Linked DNA regions of Homo sapiens: regions 1, 2 and 3 are each linked to region 4. Evidence: promoter capture Hi-C in 16 types of primary human blood cells and fetal thymus (Javierre and others, 2016). All regions are on one chromosome and are shown on one strand. Each heading gives the region's core, a stretch centred on a gene start or on the middle of the fragment in contact. The rest is flanking DNA. Distances are from core to core; before and after follow the strand shown. Region 1 overlaps PDCD6IP (programmed cell death 6 interacting protein). Region 2 has its middle 140 kb from the start of LINC01811. Region 3 has its middle 92 kb from the start of PDCD6IP. Region 4 holds the start of ARPP21-AS1 (ARPP21 antisense RNA 1).

Region 1 (7,003 bases), core at 4,336-6,835, 1.9 Mb after region 4:
AGTACATGTATGACAAATGGTAGTTACAGATTACTGTTTTGCAACAATGGAGAAGTACTTATATATGTTCTCCAGTATTTTATAAAACTCAACCACTTTGGCACAAATATATAATAACTCAACTTAAAAATCTCATGGGGAAAAAGAAACTAGGAAATAAATACATTTCTTTGAAATACCACAAATAGGTACAGGACAAATTCCCATTAGAAATTCTAGTTTAGGCTGGGCACGGTGGCACACGCCTGTAATCCCAGCACTTTGGGAGGTCGAGACAGGCGGATCACAAGGTCAGGAGATCGACACCATCCTGGCTAACACGGTGAAACCCCGTCTCTACTAAAAACACAAAAAAATTAGCCGGGCGTAGTGGTGGGCGCCTGTAGTCCCAGCTACATGGTAGGCTGAGGCAGGAGAATGGCGTGAACCTGGGAGGTGGAGCTTGCAGTGAGCCAAGATCGCGCCACTGCACTCTAGCCTGGGCGACCGAGTGAGACTCCATCTCAAAAAACAAAAAAAGAAATTCTAGTTTAAAAAAAAAAAAAAATTGGCCAGGTATGGTGGCTCACACCTGTAATCCCAGCACTTGGGAGGCCAAGACAGGAGGACTGCTTGAGTTCAGGAGTTCAAGACCAGCCTGGACAACACAGCAAGACCTCCTCTCTACTAAAAATTTAATAATTAGCCAGGTATGGTAGTATGCACCCACTTGGGAGGTTGAAGTAGGATTGCTTGAGCCCAGGAGATCGAGGCTGCAGTAGGCTATTGTGGCGCCACTGTACTCCAGCCTGGGCAGCTGAGCAACTGAGCCAAGGCCCTGTCTTAAAAAAACAAAAATGTTAAAATTTTTAAATAAAGATTAAATTCTATATTTAATTTTTAAAAAGGAAAAAAAAATTTTTTTTTTTTTTTTGAGACAGAATCTCACTCTGTCGCCCAGGCTACAGTGCAGTGGTGTGATCTCGGCTCACTGCAACCTCCACCTTCCGGGTTCAAGCAATTCTCTGCCTCAGCCTCCCGAGCAGCTGCGATTACAGGCACCCGCCACCATGACCGGCTAACTTTTTGTATTTTTAGTAGAGACAGTGTTTCACCATTTTGGCCAGGCTAATCTCGAACTCCTGACCTCGTGATCCACCCGCCTCAGCCTCCCAAAGTGCTGGGATTACAGGCATGAGCCACCACACCCGGCCGGAAAAGAATTTTTTAATTTAAGGGGAAGGTGTGGGGATCAAGAACAACCAATCCACATGGCCAAAATAATACTGCAATGCTAATTCACACAACCCTATTCAGCTGCAATCTGTATTTAGGGATGTGCAACTCCAGACCACCAACTAGAGGATGAAACAAGAGAATCAGAAAAGCTGGGCCAGAGATATTGGCTGGAGTTCATAGATTCTTTGTGAACTTTATTTTCACACTTCTTTCTTCACCCAATTTAACACATGAAAAATCATTAATCAAGCACTACTGCAGCAGAGAGTATGGCAAAAAGTAACTAGCTGGGGAATCAAGAGGTCAGGATCTTAGTCCAGTTCTGCCATAAAGATAGCTTTGTGGGCTTAAATCTCCTGTGTAAAGCACCTCAGAAGATTCTTCTTACAGATACACAGAATGATGATAGTCCTGATAAGATTTACTAAACACCAGAAAAGTCAAAACACAGAAAAACAAATCAGATTTTAAATCTTCCCATATGTTTATTCACCTATGTGGAATAAAATTACGGAGCCAAAAAGGTCTGCCAATTACAGATATTCCTTGAGACCAGGGACCAAGTATATCTTTATATCCTCCACATTGTCTCCTACAGTATGGTTCACACAGACTCTCCATTAGTATTTGGTTAACAAATTGTAGCAACGTCATTGTGCTAATATTATCTCAATATTGAGACAGCCAGGTGGGAGGGGGTCCCTGGAGAAATTCCAACCAGCCTGTTCACTAAGGTGGAGCCTTGGGAAATTCCATAGGGAGGAGACTGGCCCCTCCTCTTCCTGTGCGGAACCTGAGATTCAAGCTGCAGGCGGGATGTGCTCTAACTGGGACTCTAGCTTTGTGAGAGTTCCTGTTTCCCCCTTTTCTTCCTTTTCACCCAATAAAACCCTGCTTTACTCACCCTTCAAACCGTTTGCAAGCCTAAATTTTCATGGCCGTGGGACAAGGAAAAGTTCTGCAAAGAGTATGTTCACCACCAAACCAACAACGAGAATCCAAACAACAGTTATGAAGTAAAACAGAACATTTTCTTTACTGATCTATAAAACACTACCATGTAGAAAATATTTCAGAAATTAAAAGAGTATTCCATCAACTTCATTTTACAAATGAAAAAGTCAGTAGGATGCAACCAATACAGACTGAGAAAAAAATACACAGTCCTAAAATATATTAGAAAAACCAAAAAGATGGAAAACTAACCAATCAATACAAAAAGATAGAAAAAAGGAACAAAGAACATTTTTTAAAAAAATGAATGACAAGGGCAGAAAACCAACCAAAAAGCCTTGGTTTTAAACAAAGAAAAGGTGGCTCCAAACCTTTGGCAAATCTGAGGGAGGAAAATCACACATAACACATGCACAACATTAGGAATAAGAAAAAAAATGTTAACTACAGATTATGAGATGACAACACTTTTGGGAGAACTTCCATGTGACAAAAGATAGAATAAACACAGTTGAGAGACAAGAAACAGATTGGAAGATTTTTGCAACATACCTAATGAAAAAAGTATAAATATCCAGAAAATGCTACAACTCCTACAAATTAGTAAGGAAAAAACAACTCAATAGAAAATGGGCAAAAGAAAAGAACAAGCAATCACAGAAAAAGAAACAAAGTGGCCAGTAAACAAAAACTGTTCAACCTCAGTAAAATAAGAGGAATGCAAACTAAAGGTACTATCTCTCACCCATCAGTTTAGCAAAAAGCAATAAATTAAATTATTAATCAGTACGTATTAGCAAGGATATGGAAGAATAAAGTACTCCCATATACCTGCTGATGAGAATGTAAATTGTTACAAGCACTGTGGAGAGCTGAAAATGCAAACAAGTTCCTCTTACAGTTAAACAAATAAATCTGAATAAACATCCTTCTTTGCTCCCCGCCAAAACCCACTAAAACAAGAATTTAAAAATGTAAAAGATGTACATGAACATGGACAAAAAGAACGGGAAATGACACACAGGATATAAGAGGTTTCAACAAAATTTACTAAAAGGTGAAAAGTGAATGAAAAAGAGAAAGCCAAAATCTAACTGGCTAAGAGGGAAGGGAGCCAAAGCAGAAGCCAAATCATGCCAGAGAAGCCAGAAAAGGATCTGAATTAAGAAACATGAGGTACCTCTGAAGGTAGTTCAATGTGAGGCTGGAACGAGAAGGTATGGTTGAAAATCCTTCAAAGAAAACTTCAGGCTCCCAGATCCTCTACTCTGAAGGTAGGTTCACTCTCAAAAAAACGTCAGAGATTGGCCGGGCACAGTGGCTCACGCCTGTAATCCCAGCACTTTGGGAGGCCGAGGCGGGTGGATCACCCGAGGTCAGGAGTTCCAGACCAGCCTGACCAACATGGAGAAAGCCCGTCTCTACCAAAAATACAAAATTAGCCAGGCAGAGTGGTTCATGCCTGTAAATCCCAGCTACTCAGGAGGCTGAGGCAGGAGAATCGTTTGAACCCGAGAGGCGGAGGTTGTGGTGAGCCGAGATCATGCCACTGCACTCCAGCCTGGGTAACAAGAGCAAAACTCCACCTCAAAAAAAAAAAAAAGAAAAAAGAAAAAAATGTCAGAGATATCAAATATAACTAAGGTGGAGATCAAGCACTGCTAAGTGGGGTAGGGAGTGCTAATTGACTACATCATTATCAGTCTATCCTATTCCTTATTAACAAAACTGTGTCCCTTTAGCTGAGTATACAGCTGCTCATAATGAAAATTCCTTTTCCTAGCATCCTATCAGAAGGACACACAAAATGGCCGGTAACATATAGGCAGGGTGTTGTGGAACAGTTGCCAGGAAACACCCTAAAGGGCGAGCCCCGTGCCTTTCTCCATCCTACTACCTGGAACTTGGATATGATTGCAACCTGGACCTGAGAACAATATTCTAGGTTTCAAACAGCAGAAAGCTGAAAGGAATCTGAGCCCCAATTAACTCCACAGAAACACTACACCAGCCCTGGGCTACCAGAACTACCTACCTGCCAACTTTTTACAAAATAAAATCTTAACTCAGATAATTTGGGATCTACCACACAGAAATGAACCTAACCCTAATGCAGGTGTCATACTAAAAATAGATGTACCTGATAGACTGCATACATGATTGTTAAGATCCCCAACCTCCATTCCCCAGGATAAAATTTAGAAAGCTGATAAGCAGACTTTTTCATGGAAGACTAGAAGCTTTCTCTCTAAAGAAACTGATCACCACAAAAGAAATTACACAATGCTGGTAAATGGTATATCTGGAGCTTCAAATAAAATACAAAATAAAAATAAAAAACCAGCAGGGTTCCCATTTGATCACCCTAGGTCACCATTTACCAAGGTCTAATCAATTTTTAGTAAAAGCCACTTTATAAAGGAAGAAGTATCATATAAAAGGGTTTTTTGTTGTTGTTGTTTTGTTTTGTTTTGAGACAGCGTCTCAGTATGTAGTTCAGGCTGGTCTCCAACTCGTGGGCTCTAGTGATCCTTCTGCCTCAGCTGGAATTATGAGTGCATGCTACCACACCCAGAACAAATGAGTTTTTAAGTACTCATTCTCATTATTATAATATGCATAAATGTATATTTTAGGAAATTTTAATAGAACACCTACAAGTTAGTAATAAGAAAACAAGTCTATCACTGGAGCAATATATGGAGCTGCATATCAGGACTTATCAAGCTGGCTTCAATTATTTAGGAATTAGTTTAAACTCTGTTTTTCAAAGTTCATTAGTTTAAAAAGTTCATTAAGTTAAAAAATTAATGTTAAGTTTACACAATTATCCAAACATAATTATTAAAAATAAGATATTCTGCCGGATTTGAATGAACATCACACAACTGATTCACATCTAATTTTACAGCGTATATACCTACAAAACTTTTGTACCTACCTCCATTATAAACTTTAGTAATATCTCCAAGCTTACCCTAACCCCTCTAGAAGCCCAAAAAGTGAAAATACTTAATATTTGTTGAATTAATGTGGCAGGAGGGGATTATACAGAGGTGACTAAAGAAACATGGTTAGTTTCAAAGAGACTATATCTACAACAGGTCCACTACCTAGGAACAGTTCACACATTTAAGTCTGGTAAAAAGAATAAAGGAAGGAACAAATGAATTAAGTTTTAAAGTTGACAGGAGAACCGTATCCAAACCATTATCCACCAACCTCCCATGTCTGTTAGCTTAAAACCCATGCACCAAGTGCTTCTGAAGACCCCAAATCTGAGGGCTGGAACCAAATTTGATATATTCAACAAGATTTTTATCACAGGGCTCATTATACCACAACTATGTTTTCTTAATATTACTAATGGAAAATCCTCACTGAATGCTATTCATGCCTACATAAAAATTACCTTGAAATTGTTTAATTATGTTAATTCTAAAGAATGGCTAAGTATTTCTAGGTTAACTTTAAAAAAAATGCTTATGCTATTAGACTAATGATCCTTGCAGCCCAACAGTTGTAGCTCTAAAATTTGACACCAAGGGGTCTTAATTCCTCTGAGCAATCTATTCAGTACCCCTTCCTTCGGAGAACCAACCCTTCCCCAGTCCGGACTCATCTTGCTTTGATCCATGGGGTAAGGAGAAATTAAACCGGCTGGATGACTCAGATAAGGGCAATTAACTTAGCCCATTTCCCACCATCATAAATGGGTGCAAACAAACCCAGGAGCCTCCCATGGACTTCCACCAGAGCTAAGGAGAAAAGCACTCCCTTCTGTAAGATACTGAGTGTTGCGGACGATTGTTATTACACTACAGCCATCCCTCTCAATACATGAACAAAGCTTTCGAGGGAAGCATCACGGAGGCAAGACGATCTCCAGTGATACCTAAAGCTAAGGAAGGAATATCCCTAGACTTTTCAGTTAGCAGAATAAGTCTTACTTTTTTTTTTTTTTTTTTTTTTTTTTGAGATGGAGTCTCACTCTGTCGCCCAGGCTGGAGTGCAGTGGCGCGATCTCGGCTCACTGCAAGCTCCGTCTCCCAGGTTCACACCATTCTCCTGCCTCAGCCTCCCGAGTAGCTGGGACTACAGGCACCCGCCACCACGCCCGGCTAATTTGTTGTATTTTTAGTAGAGATGGGGTTTCACCGTGCTAGCCAGGATGGTGTCGATCTCCTGACCTCGTGATCCGCCCGCCTCGGCCTCCCAAAGTGCTGGGATTACAGGCGTGAGCCACCGCGCCCGGCAGAATAAGTCTTTTCTTAGCTCAAGCTAGTTTAGCCTGGGTTTCTGCTACTTGGATTGGAATACAATTGTGATTCTCCTGTGAAACAAGTAGAATATACTATACGGAGAAAACGAGATTAACAAGGTATGCAAAAGAAATGTTTAACTATAAAATCGTAAAAAATGTTCTTATAACTATTAAGTATCATGAAAGGAACCCTCATTAAATCAGCATGAGCTAAATAAGCGTTTGCTAAAATAACAAATTTACTCTACTGTGTATATATCTGTTTGTGAACAAACTGCTTTTAAACAACCTACCTTGAACGGTTCAACTATGTAACTAGAGTTTTATTTCAAATAGTTGTAGCTCCTAACTTTCAGAATTCTCCATCTATCATTTGATTATTTTGAACTGAGGAAGACGGTCCATTTCATGTGGACAATGTGATGAGCTGATCAGACATTTGGTCCAGTGTCCCAATTCCCCCACTTCCCCCACTGCCTTCAAGCAACTACTATTATGAAATCAAAATGTGGCCCAAGAAAGACAGTGATGGAAAAATGGGGCGAAAGGGGAAGCTTCAGTTAGAGA
Region 2 (7,328 bases), core at 445-2,944, 1.6 Mb after region 4:
GGAAGCATTTTTCTAACTGCTGTAGTGCTGACATGGGCACCTGCGTCATGGCATTTTGTGGAGGGTTCCAAAAGTGGACCCCGGGGCACTTGCAAATGATCTGTCAAGGTATAAAATTAGAGCAGGCCAGTGACCCAGACCCCAGGGACAGCTGATCCCTACATAGTTTGCAGTAGAACTGCTACCACAAAGCGGAGGAAAATCAGGGCAGCATCACTTGAGGCTGGCCTCATGCAGGGCCCAGAATCCTGCTGAACAGGAAAAATATTCAGGCAGACAGCAGATCTGGGCTCCAACCAGTGCCAACATTGACTTTCTGTGTAACAGATCATTTTGCTTCTCTGAGCCTCAATTTCTCTATCTATAAAATGATGGCATTAAACCAGAAAATCTCTCAGGTTTTCTCTAGCTCCCAGATGGTGTGAACTATATGTCAGATTGAGATAAGGTGTTGCTGCAATAACAGATAAGCTCAAAAGTTTAGTGACTTAAAATAACAAAGCTTTATTTCTCACTCCCACTTCATGTCCATCATGGGTCTCCTGGGGGTTCCTCCAGATCATTATCTCACTCTAGGACCACCATTGATGGAATAGCCACTATCTGAAAGAATGTTCCTGGGTAGGGGGTGATGGAGCAATCTCATACCAGCAATTAATTTATTGGCCAAAACTGATCACATAACCTTGCTTAACCACAAGGATGGAAGTACAATCCTGCCATGTGCCAAGAAGGCAGACAGCTGGAAATATTTGATGAGCCACATTAATTGCTATTGTGTAGACTTTAGTATCAGGGCTGAGAAACTCTCTGTGTGCTGTATGTGGACCACTGGAGTAACAATGACAACTTTGAAAACCACATATAAAGATGGGGGTGGAGGAAACTGAAAGAATATATCAGTCATTGGAACAGTGTGCTGGGATGATAGATTTATGAGTGTTTTCTGTTTCTTTCTTCTATTTTCCAAATTTGTGACAATATTATTTGATTTTGCATGTAATTAAAAGATTAATTCATTTTAACTCAATATATGTGTATTGAAGGTCCATTTAATATGGGCACTGTGCTAGTCACCATAAAAAATACAAAATGATAAAGTCAGGTTCACCAATGACTATCTTCAACAATGTGAGTGTGTGGTGCTGGTGAAAGAGTGGAGAAAAGTTAAAATGCTGAAATAAACAGCCATGGATGAGGGTTTAGACAGTGGGAAAAGAATGGTGGAAATGCTACTGAGGTGAACTGAGGGAAGAAACATTGAAAATGACCACTTGAGGAAGAAATAACAGAAACAATGACTTCCAGGAGGAGAAGGTGATTTCAGAACAAAGATGACAGCCTTGGTTTGGATCATATTGATGCATAAAGACAAGAGGGAAACTCTGGGACTGGAGTCCATGTTAGTGTTGGATATGTGGATATGCTGATGTGTGAATCACCTGTTCATGAATAGTACATGAATCTGTGGAGGTGCATAGGTTCCCAAGGGAGAAGAGAAAAGAGAAGAGGAAAATTCTCAGATCGTTTGAATCTCTGACTGTGGTGTTTTGTTGTTACGGTGGTGGTTCTACGTTTCTTTTTTTATTTCTAAAATGACTTGGAAAAACTAATAAAGAACACTATAAAAATGAAAACAAAAGGAGAAAATAAGGAACCAATACACGTACCCTCCAAAAAGGAAACCTAACTTCAAAGTTAGCCTGCCTTGTGCTAGGAAGGAAAGGAAAGGAAAGAAAAGGAGGGGAGGGGAGAGGAGGGGAGGGGAGAGGGAGAAAATAAAATTCATGAATAGTTTTAGCAGAGTTTTAGCACAGAAAGGGGAAACACTGAAAAAATATATATCCTTCTCAGTGGATTTCCCAAACACCACAAGAAACATCAAAAATTATTAAATTCCCAATTACTGCCATACGTACATATGTTTTTCACAGCTGGAAAACAAAGTTGAAAATCAACCAGGACAAGTGAGCAGAATATAGATGCACTTGAAGACTTTACCAACCCCCAAAGGGGTCGAGCAATTCAAAAGTTAAGGTAACAAGAGAAGATTTCCCATGGGGAAATGCCTGCCTCAGAGTGTAAGACAGAAATGTTGGTCTGCCATTACTCAGAGCTCCCTCAACAAAACAGTGGTCCAGTAAGCCAGGCTCAAAGCTGACCTGAACAGCAAGCAAGGTACCAGTGTCTTTTAAACAAGATAACCCTTTATTGCCAAAACTGGCTGGAATTAACAACTGTCACTCCCAAAATCACTGATAGACACACAGAAAAACTCACAAGAATCATTCATTTTTTTCTATCTATGGCTCTAGTGCCTAGAATAGAACAGGGTTAATAAAGGTTTTTGGAACCTTAGGACAAAAAAATTGAGCTTCTAACAGTCCAAGTGTTTTGTCTAAGGCCAAGCAACTGGTAAGTTTTGATTCCTTGTCCACGGTTTTCTCTACTTTCTTGGCCTGCCCATCCTCCTAGCTAATGTCACACACAGAACATCACATGCCCAAAACACCACATTATATTAACCACTTGTTTTCCTTGAGGATCCCAGGATGAAAATTAGCTCAGTGTAGATGGCTTGCAGTAATTCTCCTCTCTCCTTCCTTCACAATGTTATTTTGCAGCTCCTCCCATTCGGTTGTCCTTGTGACTTGCTTTGATCAATGGAATATGACAGAAGAGGCATTGAGACTGAGCCTCAAGAGATCTGAGCTGCTTCCACATGCTCTCTTGGAAACCCATGCCCACCATGTGAACAAGCACAGGTTAGCCTAAATGCCTACCACTCCCTCCAAATTCACAGTCTTTCCAGAGTCAGACACGTTAAATGACTTGCCCAAAGGCACACAGCAAGTGTAAAGGCAAAACTCAGTATAGAAAGCTTAGCTTAGCCAGGCATGGTGGTGTGTACCTGTAGTCCCAGCTACTTGGGAGTCTAAGGCAGGAGGATTGCTTGAGCCCAGGAGTTCAAGGATGAAATCAGCTGTGATCATTCATGCCACTGCACTCCAGCCTGGGTAAGAAAATGGAAGGAAGGAAAGGAAGGAAGGGAAGGGAAGGGAAGGGAAGGGAAGGGAAGGGAAGGGAAGGGAAGGGAAGGGAAGGGAAGGGAAGGGAAGGGAAAGGAAGGGAAGGGAAGGGAAGGGAGGAAAGGAGGAAGGGAGGAAGAGAGGAAGGGAGGAAGGGGAAGGAGGGAGTGAGGGATTCCACTTTAATGCTTCTTCCACTACAACCTGTAAAAATGTCATTTAATTAGGTTAAACAAAGGGTATTGGATGAATGAATGAAGCCCAAAACTGAAGACTTTCACAATGAAATCTCTGCTCTACACTTGCCACCCAAGTTCCAGGCCCACATTTCTGATAGTTTACTGGATATGACCACTGTAATTACCCTCCATTCCTCAAATCCAAGTTACATCTTATATCCAAAACGAAGCACCAGATTACGTTGTTGTTTTTGTTGCTTTCCATTTTCCTTTATTTCCTGTAGTGTATGGTGCCAGAAAGACCAGGGTTCAAATCCCAACTCAGCCACTTAATTGGCTGTTGTAACATTCCTAAGACAAGGACAAAATTTACCGTATAAAAATACAAATCTCTTTGACCTGAACTGCCCTACAATTAATTTGCTGCCTAAAAATAGCTTTTCCCAAAAAAAAAAAAAAAAAAAAAAAAAGGAGGAGGTGTTAACCTAACCAACATCTCTGGAGAAACAGCCAAAGCAACTTTACAGAGGCAGTTCCTAAAAATGTATCTGCAAGTCACAGGATGTGGCTTTTTCAGATGTGACATGCCACAGGAAAAGCGCTGAGAGCTGTTGTGTTTCTGCAACTTATTATACGTGTTTAATTAGAATTTGTCTGTCAAGAAGCAGCTTAAGCAGCAGTTATCAAAAGGGCATAAATATCTTGGCATCAACCCTTCTGCCCCAGAATTTAAATAGAACCAAAAAAAAAAGGCACAGGAAAAGGCAAGGATGCTTTGGCTACCTTGTCATATGAGCTGGTGAGGTGAGTGACCAGCTACCAAGCTCACAAACCAGCCCAGAACTGAGGCATGCTGGCACATGTCTGCCTGGGAAGCTTCACCCCCTCTCTGCCCACTAGGTGATTCGTTTAATGTTTCATTTTATTGGCTCCTGTCTTTCCTTAAAATGTGAAATACCTTAAAATGTAAATTTCCTTTTATTTCCTGGAGTACGTATGGCGTCCTCTCTGGGCCAAGAAAATGCACAGATGACAACAACAGATGATCCTTTGCCTACAGTGACAACTTTTTACCTTTGGTAGCTATGGCAGCCATAAGGCCAGGTATGGTTGAGGCTGTATGGTCATGCTACTGCTTAAACAGGGAAGTGGATCTTCTTTGTCCCACAGCCCCCTTTGCGGGGGCTAATAACACCTTGCTTTTTAGCAACTTAGCAAAAGCTACCACTTTACTGGGTTTGTAGAGCTGTACCCTAAAGACCAAGTTTAAATATTAGATTAATGCACAAATAATTGCGGTGTTTGCCATTGCTTTCAATGGCAAAACCGCAATAACTGTTGCACCAACCTAATAAGAAGCCTGGAACATTCTAGGGAGGAAGCAGCCAAGATCCCCAACCCTGGCTCCTCCAGATTTAAAGATAAGGCAGTTTATTAGGATGTCTTCAGGGACTCCAACCAAGGCCCACAACAGGGCAGGTCAATGAAACCTGAGACAAAATTTCCTCTGAAAAGGGAGAAGCCAGTCTAGCTCAAGAGCCAGGGTGTCCCTAGGTACACACTGGTCCCAGCCGTTAGGTCCAATACTGGACCTCCCCACACAGAGCCAAACTCATTCGTTTGCTCATTGTCGATGGATGCCTTTGTGCTACAAAGAGGGGGGTTGGGTAGTCACGACAGAGACCATATGGACTGCAAAGCCTAAAATATTTACTATCTGGCCCTTTCCAGGAAAAATGTGTTGACTCCTGATTTAGGGAATGGCTGGCTAAAGCTATGATATGACCAGGAAGTCTGTAACTTTGGAGCTGGATCCTGGAGTACCCTTAGGCACACACTGGTATCTGAACTCACAGCTGGTGAGTGGACAAGCTGAGACTCAAACCCATGTCCTTGGGATTCCAAGTCTGTAAACCAAATGAATATAAACTACCTTTCAGCAGGAAAACACTGAGTTCAAATGACTGCTACCAACCTAGGCTTGCATTCCAGGCCTTCCTCCTGGGCAGAGCCACAGGGTGTCATCCTGTCTAAAGAGTTTGCTCTTAGAACCCCCTTGAACCACCTCCTAGCTTCCCAGTCAATGAAGCCTCTTTGGGGACGGGAATGGAATTCAAATATGTTACAATAATTTCACAAGATAAACCACAACCAAGACAGTTGGCCACTTATTGATGTATTGCTTTGAAGCTCCAAACTCACCCTTCAATGCCTGCTCTGCCATAATGAACTGGACTCGCAGCATTTCTCCTTTATGGTAAGCACAATGTCAAGGTTTGTCAGTAGAGGGCGATGGCAGGACATTGCAGAAGGAAGGGGCTTCTCTTTTTGATTCCGCTTGCTGTTTTGCTTTTTCTAGCTTCAGCTGCATGTTCTGTCAGCAGAACATGTGGATGGGGACATTGTCCGGGGGTGCTCTGCCCCAGCTGCGCACCCAAAGCAGGCTTCTCCAGAAATCTTGCAGCCTTGGCCCAGGCTCAGTAACCACTTTGCTGCAGCCCTCCAGTCAGTCACTGCATAGTCTGGGCCTTGTTCCTGTAGTGGCATCCCCACGAAGCCCTGCTGCACACCTCCCAACCTCAGCTTACCTGTGCCGCCTAAGGTTGTTGCTGTTTGCCCAGTTATGTAGACTAGCTCTGGCCACTGCAACCAAGCAAACGTCATTATCCAGGACCCTGCAATTGAAGATCTTCTTCTATGAGATCTGAATACTAACCTTCACACTTGTCTTTCCCTGGGTATGTTTTGGTGTTCTTTTTCCATCTTTGGATACACTATCTTATCATAGCTTAATAATTCTTTATATTAAATTTCCCCAGTATTGAAGTCACTGAATACAGTGATTGAAGGCAGACTAATTCAGTGAGGAAAGTCAGCCAGTGACAGGGATGTGCTGCTGCTCTCCTGAAATCACTCTAAGAGACCAAATGTTTACATATTTGAATGCCCCTCAGAATGGGCAGATATGTGCTATTAAAATCCATTTGTTGATGAATGAATGAATGAACACATAAACAAACTCAACTATAGCCGAGAAATAAATTGTAATAAGGGATTAAATGGGCAACCTATAAAAAATAGGATGGTCTGACACAGAAACTCAGGAAGTTTTCTTGATACCACAGAACACTCTACACAATATCTCAAGCCTGTTTCTAAAAATCTATGTTTTCTCTAAGTGTATATAATCTACGCCTGTCCCTATTAGAATGTCTATTTCAATCCTCTTCAAATTCTGCTCCTTTATGTCACCATAGCAACCCACATCCCTTAATAAACAATCAAGAGATTTTATTAAGAGAATTATACATGGAAAGCTTGATTTTTTTCTAATATTCTTATGTTTCCATTATGAAAATCTGGCATTTCATAATGTACACCTCCACAAATTAGGCCATCCAAAAGTCCACTGTTTGGGTGCTGGAATATACAGCTTCAATCCAATTGCTACTTCCCCCAACATCCAGCAACTATACCTCGAAAGTCTCAAATACATGAATGCGGCACAGCAAATAAGGAAAATGTGCCCTTGCCACACGCTCATTATAATCCCCAGAGGCCATTATCATAAAAGCCTCCTTCCAGGTTTTAGATAGAGAAGTGTGATGTCAAGTGAGAGCAAACGCCTCTGCCATGCATAGAGCTGGCGTCAGCTAACCAGCCAAATTTCCCATATGTGTAAAATTTTCACATTGATAACAAGTATTTTAATTTTCTCTCCTTGAAATAAAGAAAACTGGTATTTGTTAGGCTCTTACTTGATCATAGGCAATGTGCTTGGTGTTTTACATGATTACTTCTAATCCTCAAATAGTTCTTCAAGATGCTAGATAGTATTATCCCCATCTTATCCGTGGTAAAACAGAGACTCAGAGAGATTACATGGATTAAAACTCTCCTGTTGAATGACAAATCCAGACAGTTCTGAAAGTTTGTTTTGTCTCCCATTTTTAGTGACTTAGCAAACAGCAAGGTCAACAGGTCTGAGTTATCTCAACAAAAGTGTAGGTGGATAACAACCCAATTGCTGGGCTCCAAGGCTCCTTCTTCCTGAGGATACCAAGAAGCCTCCATTGCTGTGTAGCTGCATAGATATTCTTCCTGCCCCAAACCTATAAAT
Region 3 (6,699 bases), core at 3,793-6,292, 1.8 Mb after region 4:
GATTCAATGCAATTCCTATCAAAATACCAACATCGTTTTTCACAGAATTAGAAAAAAAAATCCTAAAAATCATATAAAACCAAAAAAGAGCCCAAGTAGCCAAAGAAATCATAAGCATGAAGAACAAATCTGAAGGCATCACATTACTGGAATTCAAATTATACTACAAGGCTGTAGTCACCAAAAGAGCATGGTACTGGTACAAAAAGTAGACACATAGGCCAGTGGAACAGAATCGAGAACCCAGAAATAAAGCCAAATACTTTACAACCAACTGATCTTTGACAAAGCACACAAAATCATAAATTGGGGAAAGGACACTCTGTTTAATAAATAGCACTGGTGATTCTAATGCCCCTTCCAAAGATGAAAAAGTTTGGGTATTAATGGAAAGAAAGAGAAATAGTAGCTAAGAGTAAAGAAATAAATAAGTGGGTTATTAATTGAGGAAAATTCAATATTACATTAACGACCCAAGAGTCTCAGAGCAAAAGATGACATTGTCTCTTAGCTCATTATTCCAGATACCTGTAAGGGTGAAGCTGTATATTTACCAAGGCCACTCCTGCTTTTGGAACCTGAAAAGATTGTGAGGAAACCTACAAATGTGAGTGGCCTCATCCTGGGAGACATTCATACAATATGATAGACTGAACTAGTTATTAATGATTGTGTATACAGAGATAGATAGATAGATAGATAGATAGATAGATAGATAATAGATAGATAGATAGATGTAAAGGATCCGTGGTTAAAAATCAGGAGTGGCCTGTGGTGTTATGATATATATTGATTTTCATCCACAGTTCTGGCTCATAACTCCCATAACCCTTGTTGCAGTCTTTTGTTATAATGCTGGGTGTGTTAGGCCTCTGACCTTCTCCCGCCCTCCTTTCACCTGCCCCAAGGTAGGACTCTAATGTTCTCCACCTTTCTGATTGTGGATGTTTAGACTCTCCCATGAGAGGGTCGCACACTATCCCCTGGGGCAAAGGAATACTGATGTAATGAAGCTTCCATAAAAACTCAAGAGGACTCAAGAGGGTTCAGTGAGCTTCTGGAGAGCGAACATAAGGAAGTTCCTGGAGCAGGGCCCACCCAAGGAGAGCATGGAAGCTCCAAATCCCTTCCCCTATACTTCATCCTATGCTTCTCTTCATCTGTATCCTTTGCAATATCTTTTATAATAAAATGGTAAATTAAATAAATTAATAAATGGTGCTGGGAAAACGGGCCAGCCACATGTAGAAGATGAAACTGGATGCCTATCTCTCACCTTACCCAAAAATCAACTCAAGATGGAGCAAAGAACTATTTAAATCAAAGACCTGAAACCACAAAAATTCCAGAAGATAACCTAGGAAAAACTCTTCTGGGCATTGGCCTAGGCAAAAAATTAATGACTAGGACCCTAAAAGCAAATGCAACTAAAACAAAACTAAATAAATGGCACCTAATTAAACTAAAAAGCCTCTGTACAGCAAAAGGAATAATCAGAGTAAACAGACAACCCACAGAATGGGAGAAAATATTTGCAAACTATGCACTCGACAAAGGACTAATACCAAGAATCTACTAGGAACTCAAACAAATCAGCAAGAAAAAAATGAATAATCCCATCGAAAAGTGGGCAAATGACATGAATAGGCGTTTCTCAAAGGAAGATCAGGGAAATGCAAATTAAAACCACAGAGAGATACCACCTTACTCCTGCAAGAATGGCCATTACTAAAATGAAAAAAAAAAACAATAGACGTTGGTATGGGTGTGGTAAAAAGGGAACACTCACATACTGCTGGTGAGAATGTAAATTAGTAAAACCTGTATGCAAAACAGTATGAAGATTCCTTAAATAACTAAAAGTAGAACTACCATTCAATCTAGCAATCCCACTACTGGGTATCTATGCAAAGGAAAAGAAGTCATTATGTCAAAAAGACACTTGCATGTGTATGTTTATTGCAGCCAACTCACAGTCGCAAAGAAATCAATCAGTGTAAGTGACCATCGAACAATGATAAAGAAAATGTGATATACATACACACCATGGAAAACTACTCAGCTATAAAAAAGCACAAAATAATGTCTTTTGCAGCAACTTGGATAGAGCTGGGGACCATTATTTTTTCTTCTTTCCTGGCCCACTGGCTACAAAGGAGAGGAGGCCATTATTTTCAGTGAAGTAACTCAAGAATGGAAAACCAAATACCATACGCTCTCACTTATAAGTGGGAACTAAGCTATGAGTATGTGAAGACATACAGAGTGAGATAATGGACTTTGGAGACTCAGAAGAGAGAGGGTGGGGCACAGTGAGGGATAAATAAACTACACATTGGGTACAATGTTCACTACTCAGGCGAAGGGTGCACTAAAATCTCAGACTTCACCGCTATGTAATTCATCTGTGTAACAAAAAACCACTTACACCCCAAAAGCTATTGAAATTTTAAAAACTATATTAATTTTTAAAAATTACAAACCCACAGAATTATGGGCTAAATGGATTGTTTCTTTTAAGTCACTCTGTTTTAGAATGGTTTGTTACACAGCCAAAACTAACTTATAAAACCGGTTATTAAATTGTTGCAGGGGCCAGGCACAGGGGCTCGAACCTGTTCCAGCACTTTGGGAGGTCAAGGCGGGAGGATGGCTTGAGCCCAGGAGTTTGAGACCAGCCTGGACAACATGGTGAGACCCTGTCTCTATAAAATAGATAAATAGATGAAAATGAATTGTGGCAGGAAGATCGCTTGAGGCAGGAGTTTGAGACCAGCTTGAGCAACCTAGCAAGACTCCCACCTCTACAAAAAAAGAATTTTAATTAAGAAAATAGTTACATTTCTTCCATATCAGTTAGTAAATATTCCCTACCCAACCTCCCAACCACCAACAATCTACCCTACAATCCAGCAACAAATGAATTAATGTCAGGTCCTACAGAGACCTCCAGGACATACTCTGTTTCTATAGCCTAGAGTGTTCTGATTGATCAATATGAATATCAGTTGTTAAATATTTTTGAAATTACCACTGGTCAAAGGAGCATGACTAAGCCAATTATGATATCTCAAAATATATAGTTACTAAAAATAACTATATGAACTGTATGTTTATAAAATCATGCTATAAAATAATATTAAATGGAAAAGAACAGATTACAATCAACTGATATGCATTCATTATAATAACACTAAATGCCTATGTGCACATTGACAAAGATGAGAATTGAAATTGTAGTACCAAAAGCTTGGTGGGGTTTTTTTCTCTGTACTGATTTTATTTTAGTGCACAAGAGAAAACAACTATAATTTTTCCAAGTAGAATGTATTTAGAAACTTTTCTTCCTGGAATTGGGAATCTCAGAGCAAAGCCCTAATCTTGAATATAATGCATTAAGAAAAAGTGTTTAGCTTCCTATAGGCAATATGTCCTAAATGCCCATTTAAATTTCTATTTTTAAAGGCTAAAAATTTGCAACATGAAAACAAAATCAATGTGCTCTAGAATCAATCATACTCATTTAGGCTAATATTTATTCATCTGTAAATAACTTTGCTTAATAAACTCCTATTCCCCAACCCAACATGGAAAGAAACCCTGTTTTTGCCAAGTCAGCTCCCAGATTTTTGTGATGCAAAAGTTATAAGATGAGTATGGCAGACATTGCTAGCTTCTTACACAATATCCATTCTTCCCTTATCTATTCAGGGCCTTATTTCCAAGGCTCCCTTGTAGCTAGCAATGGCCATGTGACCGTCTCTGGCCAATGAGTGTAGGGAGAATTCTACCGGCTGGGGCTTCCAGAAAATCAATTGTTTTTCTGATGTAAAGAGACCATTCAGCAGGCACATATCTTTTGCTTTTGGCCATTCCCCCTCTTCTAACCTGGAATGTAAGCATGACGCCCAAAGGTGCAGCAGCCATCTGTGAGATGAAGCAAACCATCCACCCTAACTGGCAGAGCAGAAAACCAGGAAGAGCTTCTGGCACAGCTGTGGAGCATCTGCCTATGGACTTCTTGTCTGGGGAGAGATTATAAATCTCTTACTTATTTTAGCCACTGTAATGAGGTTTCTGTAACATACTGCCAGACACAACACTGGCAGATAAAAGAGGGGAGATGAGTCCTGAGAGACAGGAAGAAGGTAGGGAGGATATGCGCAGAGAGGCCAGGTCAATCTCTTTAATAAAGAACTAGATGAGGAAGGAAGAAGCAAGAGAAAAATCAGCTCTGGATTGTGGTTACAGGAGCAGCTTGGGTGCTGGCACAAGAGACCATCCGGAGGAGCTGAGGAGTAGAGGCAAGGGTCCTTGAAAAGTGGAACTGTGGCTGGTGACTCTTATCCCCTCGAAGTTCAACAGAGTCATGCAGCAAATGGAATTCCTTCTCAAGTACTTCTGGCTGCTGAATTTTGTTTTGTTTTTGTATATGGAGAACTCTGCAGAGACTGAGCCATGTGGAGGCCCAGGGTTCACTAGGGTTATAGAAGAACTAATCTGGGAAAGTTATAGATGACAAGGACAAGTGTTGCTGTAGTGAAAAGGGCAGAAACAAGGAAGCAAGGGATGTGAGTTCAAGTCCTCATTCTTTCACAATCTGCTGTGAAGCATTAAGCAAGCACTTTGTCGCATCTTGCTTCAGGTGCCCTTTTGTAAAAGCAGAGAGGCAGACCAAATGTACCCTAAGAACCCTGTCAGCTCTGTGACTATAGTATTCCAAAAGCTACTGTAAGGGCAGGACATCTGGACTCCTAGAAGGATATCCCTTCCTCATGTAGCTTTTCTTCTTGTCTTTGATGGCACTATATTGGGTGCATGAGGGTGGGGTTTGCAAGGAAAAAGAGGTCCAATTCATTAACCGATATTCCAATTCAATAAACATCTGCTGATCACCCGCTCTGAGTTGAGCACTCAGATTAATATGGCCAGAGGATTCCATCTAAGCTCCTTAGCAAGCCCCAGAGGCCCCCACCATAGGGCCCTGTCTGACTCCTTGGGCTTACACCCCCTGGTTCTCACCCACGTCCTTACTTCTGGTGTCCCTCAGCCTACTGGGATACTCGGTACCTCCCCAGGCCTACTCCAGATATGCCTTCTTGCCTCATATGCCCATCCCTTTTTGACCTTCCGATCTGGGAAACTCCTACTCATCCTTCAGTGCCCAGAGGTGGAGGGGTGATGGGGAAGCAGCCTTGAGAGTTTTCAGCTGGTAGCTGGCCTCATCTCTACCTGCTAGACTGTGTTGTCCCCTGATGAACACAAAATCTTTCAGAGAATATCAGTAGCAGTTGAGAACTTCAGAAAGACTTCAGAAAGAACTTCAGGAGCAGATGGCTGCTCCATGATCAGACCTGAACAGAGGTAAAAACAAAGACCCTGTGCAATCACAAGAGTGACCAAACCTCCCTCTCCCTAGGCTAACATGAGATGCTGCTGCTTCTTTTCCAGTGATACCTCTAACCCCAGTATTAGTACACTAGTACTAGTGTAAGATGCTCACTCACCAAATTGCCCCACTTTCTGACAGCACCAATCCAGAACAGAGCCCAGCTTCATTGTACTCTTCCCCAAATCACCAAACACATGACCAAATCCTCCAGTAAGCCCCACTAACTCCCTCTTATCCACACATCCACGGTTCTCTGTGGCATTCACTCTCTTTTGGTGTAGCAAATTATGACTGCAGGTGTTTCCCTGGTGGCCTTTGGCAGGTGGCCATTGACAATCTTTTCCACTCTGATCTTCAATCCAGCAGAGCAAAACTTCTCTCTCATGTATTCCTGTGTTACCTGTGCACACTTCCAGCTTCCTTGAATCCTTTTTGGAACAACACTCTGTTACAACACTTCTCACTCCATATTGCATTTCCTGGTATCCATGTCTGTCTACATCTCTCCCCTGTGACTGTTTATTCACCAATGACAGGGTCCCTGTCTTCCTTATCACTTCCTTCCAGCACCTAGCCCAGGGTCCGGCACAGAGTAGGTCCCCAGGATGTCTTTGTTGAATAAATGCCCCAAGACTCCACACAAAGCAGCATGGGTGGACTCTGAGAATCTCAATTCAAAGCACCAATTGGTTCATAACTCTCTTTCCTTCACAGCTCACATCTCATGTGGAACCACAGGAGGAGGATATTAGAAAGTTGCTCTTCATCAGCACTTCATGCGGCTTCTCATTTCTGCCTCGTGTGCTGTTCTTAAATTTGCAAAGTTGTCATCACTGTTGATTATCCAGTGTGGCCACCTCCGTGACTTCAACATCCCCTGACAGTGCTAGGCCCGTTTATTGAAAGCAGAGGACTGCAACTGCAGGCAAATAACAGGAACACGAGCTAATGAGTTGGTAACACCAAGATCCTTCACGAGAGGGAAGAAAGGAAGAGTCCTAGGGTTTAAATCACCTCCATAAAACATCCACAAACAGGACTCTGTGAGGCTGTCAGGAGCCTATGGTTTCTGTTTAACATGCACAATTAGCATTTTTAGGAAGCAGCCTTTTGGGGATAAGTATGTCCTGAAGTGTACCCTTTTATTCCTTTTTCAGTTAAAACACATCTGCTTAAAGGCAACCTGCACTTGCCCTGGCCCATGCACCAACAGTGCACCATCCCTGGCTCCCCTCCCATCCCATCTTCAAAGGTGCTATGGAAGAAACTGCAGCTGCTTTCACTAAGGAAAATGTGATTTTTCTCAG
Region 4 (6,938 bases), core at 1,209-3,708:
GAAGACAGGTTGTAAATAAATAATGTAGTGCCTTTCCCTGAGTTTACAGAGGAATATCTTAGAGCACGTATTTGAAGAGCAAGGTAATATGCCTTAACTGTAAACAATCACAAAAGAGTAACTTAAAACATGCACTTAAAAGCTCAAACCATGTGAATCCATTAGGAAAAAAAATGAAAATGCAATTTTCCTTTAAACTTCACTCATCACTTAATATGCATCTTTAAAACCATTTTTCATCTATTTTATCACCATTTATTTTCTGAAAAAATAATATTTTCTCTTAATCACTTATTCCTAGGCATCTGTTTGTTCTTAAGTGTGAATCACTGGGTCCCCTAAAGAAACCTCACTGCTTCAAATTAAGATGGGTGGTGAGTGCAAATATGGATTTAGATATGCCGTAGTATTTTTTCCTTATTTTTTTACTTAATTATATATCTTGTTGACACTTTATAAAAGCCAATGCTATAGAATGTGACAACCCTCCAAATTTATTTTACTTTTCTTTTCCAGTTATTCATGGACTGATACAATATTTGTGACTCAAACCACAACTTTACAGTATTTTCAAAACAAATATTGATATACATACAATTTCAGTGTACATATTCTTAGAAGTTTCAATGTTTTAATGGATAGTCAGTACATGTAGAGAAAGCAGGAACAAGCTATCATTTCTATTATGTGGCAAGTATTTTATACGTAACTCATGAAGAAAATATTAAACTCACAATGGTTAATTAACTTTGCTAGGTGAGTAAGAGGCAGAGATGGAATTCAAATTTAGATCACCATGATGTCAAACCTACCCCCTTCCTATGACACCGGGGGAGAGTGTGTCCCAAAGATATGTAAAATCAGGAGCTGATAGTCCGTGGCATCATTCGTGCCATAAACGGCAACCACAAGTATAGATCTGTGAAGCATGCAGACAAATTTCCGTGTACTTTGCGGCAGTTTCAAAAATTAATTTCCATGGCCTTCTTTGTCATGGCTTCACTATACCTACTTCCCTTAGCTCCTGATTCTTAGTTAGATGATACCCAGATGAGATAATTGAATTCTCTGTTTTGTGTGGCCGTTACATATTACAGGGTAATTCATATTACAAAGAAAAAAATTAAGGATGAAATAACTTCTTTCATTCTTCCTTCAACAAGAATCCCTAAATATATCATAACAGAGATAATGTCACTGCTATGACTACAGCCAAAAAGTAGATAGGTATGGACATTACATAGGCACACAAAGTCCCTTTCACACAGGAGGGAGTTTATAAATATCAGGTAACATTTACAGTACAAGACAATAAAACAAATTATTTATTTGAAATCACAATGCCACATGTAGCTTTTGATCAAACATAATCCAAAGGTAAACTCAAAATCAGTAGAAGAATACTGACTTTTCACTTATCACTGTCCCTGCGCCTTCAGCAAATAATACTCACAAGGCTACAGAAATCTTGGATTTCTATACAGATAAGAATTTTTGCCTGGAGAAACAAGGTAATTCAGAGTGCAGAAAGAGCAAGCCAAGTGAAGTAATTCCCGCAGAGCAGAACAAATGGCACAAATGACCTAATCAATACAGAAATAAGTACAGATTTCCTCCACAAATGGCCACATGGTAGCTTCCCTAACAAGTTCAGAAAAACATCACACTCCTTTCATGTAGATCTTCTTTACCATTTATCGATGTACCTCATCAGGAATACCTACATTTTAGCTGTCAATTCAATATATTAGGTAAATTTACCCAGTAAAATATATAAGCCCATTCAAGTTTGTAGGTCTGCTTCTGTCTCAATGCTGTAAATGCCTTGGCTAACAGTGCAAACTGTTTGATCCCTGCTTAAGCCTAAGGATCCAATCAATAAATGATGAAACAAGTGATATCTCCTCATCCTTTCTTAAAACATAAAAAACAGTCTATTTTCACAGCTAGATCAAAACAATGAGGTAATGTTTTCAGTGATTTTTAGAAAAATTGATTTTAGAGCTCTCTTCTCTTGCTAGATCCTTTGGGCAAATCTTTTATTATACAAATGGCCTTCTGCTGGATATAACCATTGGTTTTATCTGCAAAGTGAACAAGTCACAAGTTTACTGTAATTTTATTTGAAATCATTCTTAGTTCTTAGATAACAGTCCCAAATTGCTCCTGGAAGGATGCTAAGACTAAACTCTCTACAGTATTACTAGACAAATCTAGGAGACCTCTGTGAATCACCACCAGAACTACAATCTTACCCAAAGCTGAGTCACATTAGTAGATTATAAAATACTGCATGGAATCTTGTGTACACATAGAATTCTGAATCACCTATGAATACCCACATCTCTTTTTCAAAGTCTCTACTGCCCATCCAAGCTTATAAAAGGTCAAATCCTGCTGTCTGTGCAAGGAGTGCCTTCTAGAAACAATGACCTGCACTCTGTGTTCACAGATGGCCTCTCCTCACAGAACCATTGATGTGGAAGCATTCATCATATAGAGTATAGCTGTGTTGAAAACGGATTCCAATTATGCCTGAACAAAATATCCAAGATAACTGCCACATCATGAAAACATTCTCAACACTGGGAGGGGTTTTATGGGGATGCTTTAATTATGTGAGGCCTATGCAATCAAGAAAAAATAGTGATAAGGACATAAGAAACTCCAAAACTATGATCACCAGAAAAAAATGAGTACCAAGAAATGAGGTAAGAAGTTTATATTTAATTCTTAGAACAATCCCCTTTTAGAAATGAAACAGCTGAGGTTTAGAAAGCTTAAGAAACTTTCTACTAAGTTGCAGAGTTGGATCTGAGCCCAGGTCTGGGAACCCAGATTTTCTTTTCTTAACCAACTATTCTTGATAAGAGCACCTTCTAAAAATTTCACTCCTGTTGGGTAGCATTAGTGCTTACTTTCAGCGCTAAAGAACAAAGCATAGTTAACATTTATGAACAAGCCAATAAAAATGGATGCATGAATATTATACAAAAAAGTGTCATTAAATAATGGAAATTATAAACTGGAAGAGATCTTAGATATTATCTGGCATAATCCTGTCGCTTACAGGTAATTTCAAAAAGTAGGTTCTTTCTCAGTATTTCAGAGCAAGGTATTTGAACAAGAGGCAGGTCAGAGGCAATATATATTTCTCCAGACATCTCTCTGCCTCCAAATATCTAAATTGTTTTTGCTGCCAATGAAAAAATAATGCATCTTTTTCTTTAAAAAAAGATTATCCTTCAGATGACCTACAGATCAAATCTTTTATTCCTCTGTGGTTTTCCTACAGAACCATTTAAATTTCATCTTCCTCTGATCACAGGCACTATTTTTAATTTATTAAGGATTAACAGATTTTATAATATTTTATCATTTTTTTCTGAAATAATTTTCCTGTTTCCTTTCTCAAACACACAAATGTGGAATCTCACAACAAATTCAAAGAATAACTTGTCTTTTGATAAACCTAATTTTTAATTCTAAATACGTAGGCTGGTTCATGTATTTTCTATACTTTACTCTGATCAGGTACCTTAAACTGTGGATTCAGTTCACAATCCCAATGTAATTTCAACCATTTACTTGCAGCCCTAGTAACTAATACAGTAAATGTATGATTTAATGGGAGTGAAAAAGAGAATATGACTGGCTCATACTAATTTCATATACATTTGTCTTGGTTGATGGTGTTTTTTCTTGTTGGAGAGCAACCTAAATGTTGGTTTTACTTTGTGGCCTATTCCCACCAACAGAACTTTCCTCTCCACCAAAGCTTCTCAGTGGTGCTCACTCTTCCATGTTTGTTTTCTGGAAACAATATTTTTCTACCCTCAAAGTGTACGCTCTAGGGATTACCTAATTAACTTTATTGGTAAAGAAAGATTTTTCTAATTTGTTGGAATTAATTCATATTACTTTATCATCCAAGATATTGTCTACCTATCACTTTGGATTTTTGTGAAACTCTCAATTACTCAATTCATTGTTCAGAAAAGTTAAAATGCATTCATCTCATCCAAGTGCCTATAAAATCCTACACATCAAGTTTTCCCAAGTATTTAGCCTGAGACACAATACATAGAAAACTTCAATAAATACTTGAAAAATAAGAATGAATAAATGAGTGATGGTAATGATATCTGATGCAAAGACAAGCCTTGTTAGCCGTCACCCAAGAACTCAGCTGGCTACTTAACTTGGCTTCCATGGAAGTTCCCTTACTTTGAAACAATGTGTTCTCGAATGTATTTTGCTGGCTTCCTGATGAGAATATCAACGGTGTCAAAATCTATTGCTTTCTACATGTTCCTAAAGCCTGCCACAGTCTCAGAGAAGATAACGTGTTCCTCTTCTAAGTTAAGGTATAAGGTTTTGTTTTTTGTTTGTGTGTCTGTGTGTGTTTAAAGTGGATGGGTGAATGGAAGTTCATTCCATCAACATTACACTTAGCATTTCTTAAAATGTTGGAAACAAATTAAGAAAGCAAACTCATTTCATTTGTAATCATCTGGACCCCTTCCTTTCAAACAAGATTATTTTTATAGATCGGGTAAAACGTGAATTCAGTTCTCAATGGTCCAGTTGGATTAAATGATTTTCTATTTAACTCTGGTTATTCCTATCATTTTTCCAAAGTAGCAGGAAGAGAAGAGCTTCCTATAGCTTGGTGGCACCTGTTCTGCTTAAAGCAGGAGGGGGGTCTGAAAGTCTTGAATTTGTTAATATTCTCTTCTCCCTTTGTCCCTCACCCCTGCCTTCTAATTCAGCACTGCCTACTTGCTTAGTTCTTTGGAGGAGTGAATTCCTTCCGCACATGCTGGGTGTCCTTCACCATGGTTAATCTCTCCAAAGGCACACATCCAGTAAAGATGGGTTGCCTTTAGCTCTGTGTAACAATGATTTGGAAATATTTGTAAACGTGCTTTTGCCTCATTCTTTCTTCCAAGACCATATTAACTGAGTGTTAATGAATTCCCTCCCACTTATATGGAAAAGTAATGTTTGTAGTCAGTTTAAGCAGATTGAACTTTTAGGAGCCTTGTTATTCCCATAAAATCCCTAGTCATTGTCTGAGATCTGAGGAAGAAACTATTTTGTAAGAACCAAAATAATAGCTAGTGCAGTTACAATTCTACATATAAGGGCAGGTTTTTGTCCTCTCAAAAAAATGAATATCAAATCTGCTTAAGCTGAAACTTCAGGGAAAAAATACAATTAAAACCTTATTTAGAGTAGGTTTTAAATTCTGAGTATCAGTAGAAAGGTCAATTTTTAATTCAACAAACTTTGATTAAATATCTGCCACATGCAAGCACTATACTAGCCAAGAACTGCTAAGGACAATGAAAAATGGACTGGGAAATAGGCCTTTTGTTTGTGTATTTAACGTAAGTTAGTTAAATGACTTGTGCGTAAGCATGTCGACTCTAGCAATATATATGTATCCATATAGGAACAAAATATATCTACACTTTCCTTGTTTTTGTTTGTTTTCCAACAAATATTTGGATAGCAAAGAAATATAAATTTATTCTCTGACACCTTCTGATAAATTTTATTGGATAAATAGTTGATTAGGCTATTCCCCAGAAGAATGCTGACATCTGTTTTATAATAGGAAATAAAATGCAATTATCTGATGGATTTACTGCTTTGTATAACTCACCTTCTCCTGTGTTGAATACTATCTGTGGCTCTCAATTTTTTGATAGGGGAACCAATTGTTTAAACCTCAGTTACGAGAGAAGTCTTTCCCTCCTCTGGCCATGTTCACAGAGGCACAGTGCTGACTCATTTCAGCAAAAGTAATGCAGATACTTTAGGATCAGAGGCCAGATCAGCGGCCCTGTCCAAACAGCTCACTCAGTGCTTGGAGACAGGAAGCTGAAGCCTTCTGTGGTAGTGCCAAGGACCCCTTGGTGAGGCCAAAGCTCCATTTGCTTTGTTGCAGAATAGAAAAATGTTTCTCTCATGTCACCTCAAATATGTTGTTAGTCCCAGCTCCCATCCACTAGTGCAGGATTTTAGGTTTTTCCTTCATGGATTCATTCCAGTTGTTTCCTATTCAATGATTTGGTTATTTATTCACCCCATTTAAATGGTAGAAATTACACAACTAAAATGTTCTAGAGAAATAATACCCATATGTTAACATTTTAGACAACTGAATTAGACCATTTCTTCCCTTACAAACTGGCAGAAGATTATGGCCTTGTTAAGCATCATGTTCCTTATGCAATGAACACTTCTGAGATTAGTTACTACCTTGGCTTGGCCTTCAATATTTCATAGCACAGAAAGAGTCAAGCATCACCAATTTTAACCATCAGAAACATTATGGGATAGCAATGAAGGAGAGCTGTATTCCAAATTACCAAAATATTTTTTTTTCTTAAATGGAGGTGGGGATCCTTAAATGTAAGAAAAGTAAATCTCTTTCTGAACTTTTTATGTGAAAGAAAAGTGGTTTCTTTTAAGTGAATAATATCCATGTGTCAAGTGCTTTGTTTCTGCTTTGATCCTGCAAGGTAGGTCTTATTCCCACCTCATAAATGAGAAAGTTGAAGCAATGAGGAATTAACTAAGTTGCCAAAGTCACACAACTAGCAAGTTGTTGAGTTGGGACCAGTGTTACTATACAACTTTAACTGTAGAAACTGTGAAGCACAGAGAGGTTTAGAGCTTTGGCCATAGTCACACTATTTACTCAGACCCAGAAACCAAACACCAGTACCACGCACCAATTCATGTGGTGAATTGCATATTTATGAAGGTAAGTCACAGAAAATGCGATTCAGATACACCACTTTTAGCCCTTATTTCCCTGGACCTTTCATTTTAATCCTAATTTTGTGCATTTCTCTAACCTGTAGAATCTCGTGGAGGGCCATGCGCCTCCTTGGTAAAGCCTTCCTTCATTGCTTACAGCTCAT

The links. Contacts are between HindIII fragments. The CHiCAGO score rates a contact against its expected background, and 5 or more counts as called.
Region 1: a contact is called between a fragment that was not itself captured here and the fragment with the promoter of ARPP21-AS1 in region 4, in 1 of 17 cell types (erythroblasts). The highest score is 6.0, in erythroblasts.
Region 2: a contact is called between a fragment that was not itself captured here and the fragment with the promoter of ARPP21-AS1 in region 4, in 1 of 17 cell types (fetal thymus). The highest score is 6.8, in fetal thymus.
Region 3: a fragment that was not itself captured here is called in contact with the fragment with the promoter of ARPP21-AS1 in region 4 in 1 of 17 cell types (naive B cells); the score reaches 7.7 in naive B cells.

Annotation. Positions count from the first base shown.
Region 1 is chr3:33,799,265-33,806,267 of GRCh38, reverse strand. The region is part of intron 1 of PDCD6IP (programmed cell death 6 interacting protein); the gene reads right to left. Among named protein-coding and RNA genes, the nearest start is that of PDCD6IP, 4.1 kb to the right of the region's middle. RefSeq lists an enhancer at 6,942-7,003. The HindIII fragment of the contact is 878 bases long and covers 5,147-6,024 here.
Region 2 is chr3:34,013,837-34,021,164 of GRCh38, reverse strand. No RefSeq gene overlaps it. Among named protein-coding and RNA genes, the nearest start is that of LINC01811, 140 kb to the left of the region's middle. RefSeq lists a silencer at 7,054-7,328. The HindIII fragment of the contact is 2,379 bases long and covers 505-2,883 here.
Region 3 is chr3:33,886,839-33,893,537 of GRCh38, reverse strand. No RefSeq gene overlaps it. Among named protein-coding and RNA genes, the nearest start is that of PDCD6IP, 92 kb to the right of the region's middle. The HindIII fragment of the contact is 3,581 bases long and covers 3,252-6,699 here.
Region 4 is chr3:35,647,481-35,654,418 of GRCh38, reverse strand. It overlaps ARPP21-AS1 (ARPP21 antisense RNA 1), which reads left to right and starts at 2,458. Exons shown (of 2, transcript NR_046679.1): 1 at 2,458-2,711; 2 at 3,935-4,222. All of the region lies in intron 1 of ARPP21 (cAMP regulated phosphoprotein 21), which reads right to left. The HindIII fragment of the contact is 403 bases long and covers 2,379-2,781 here.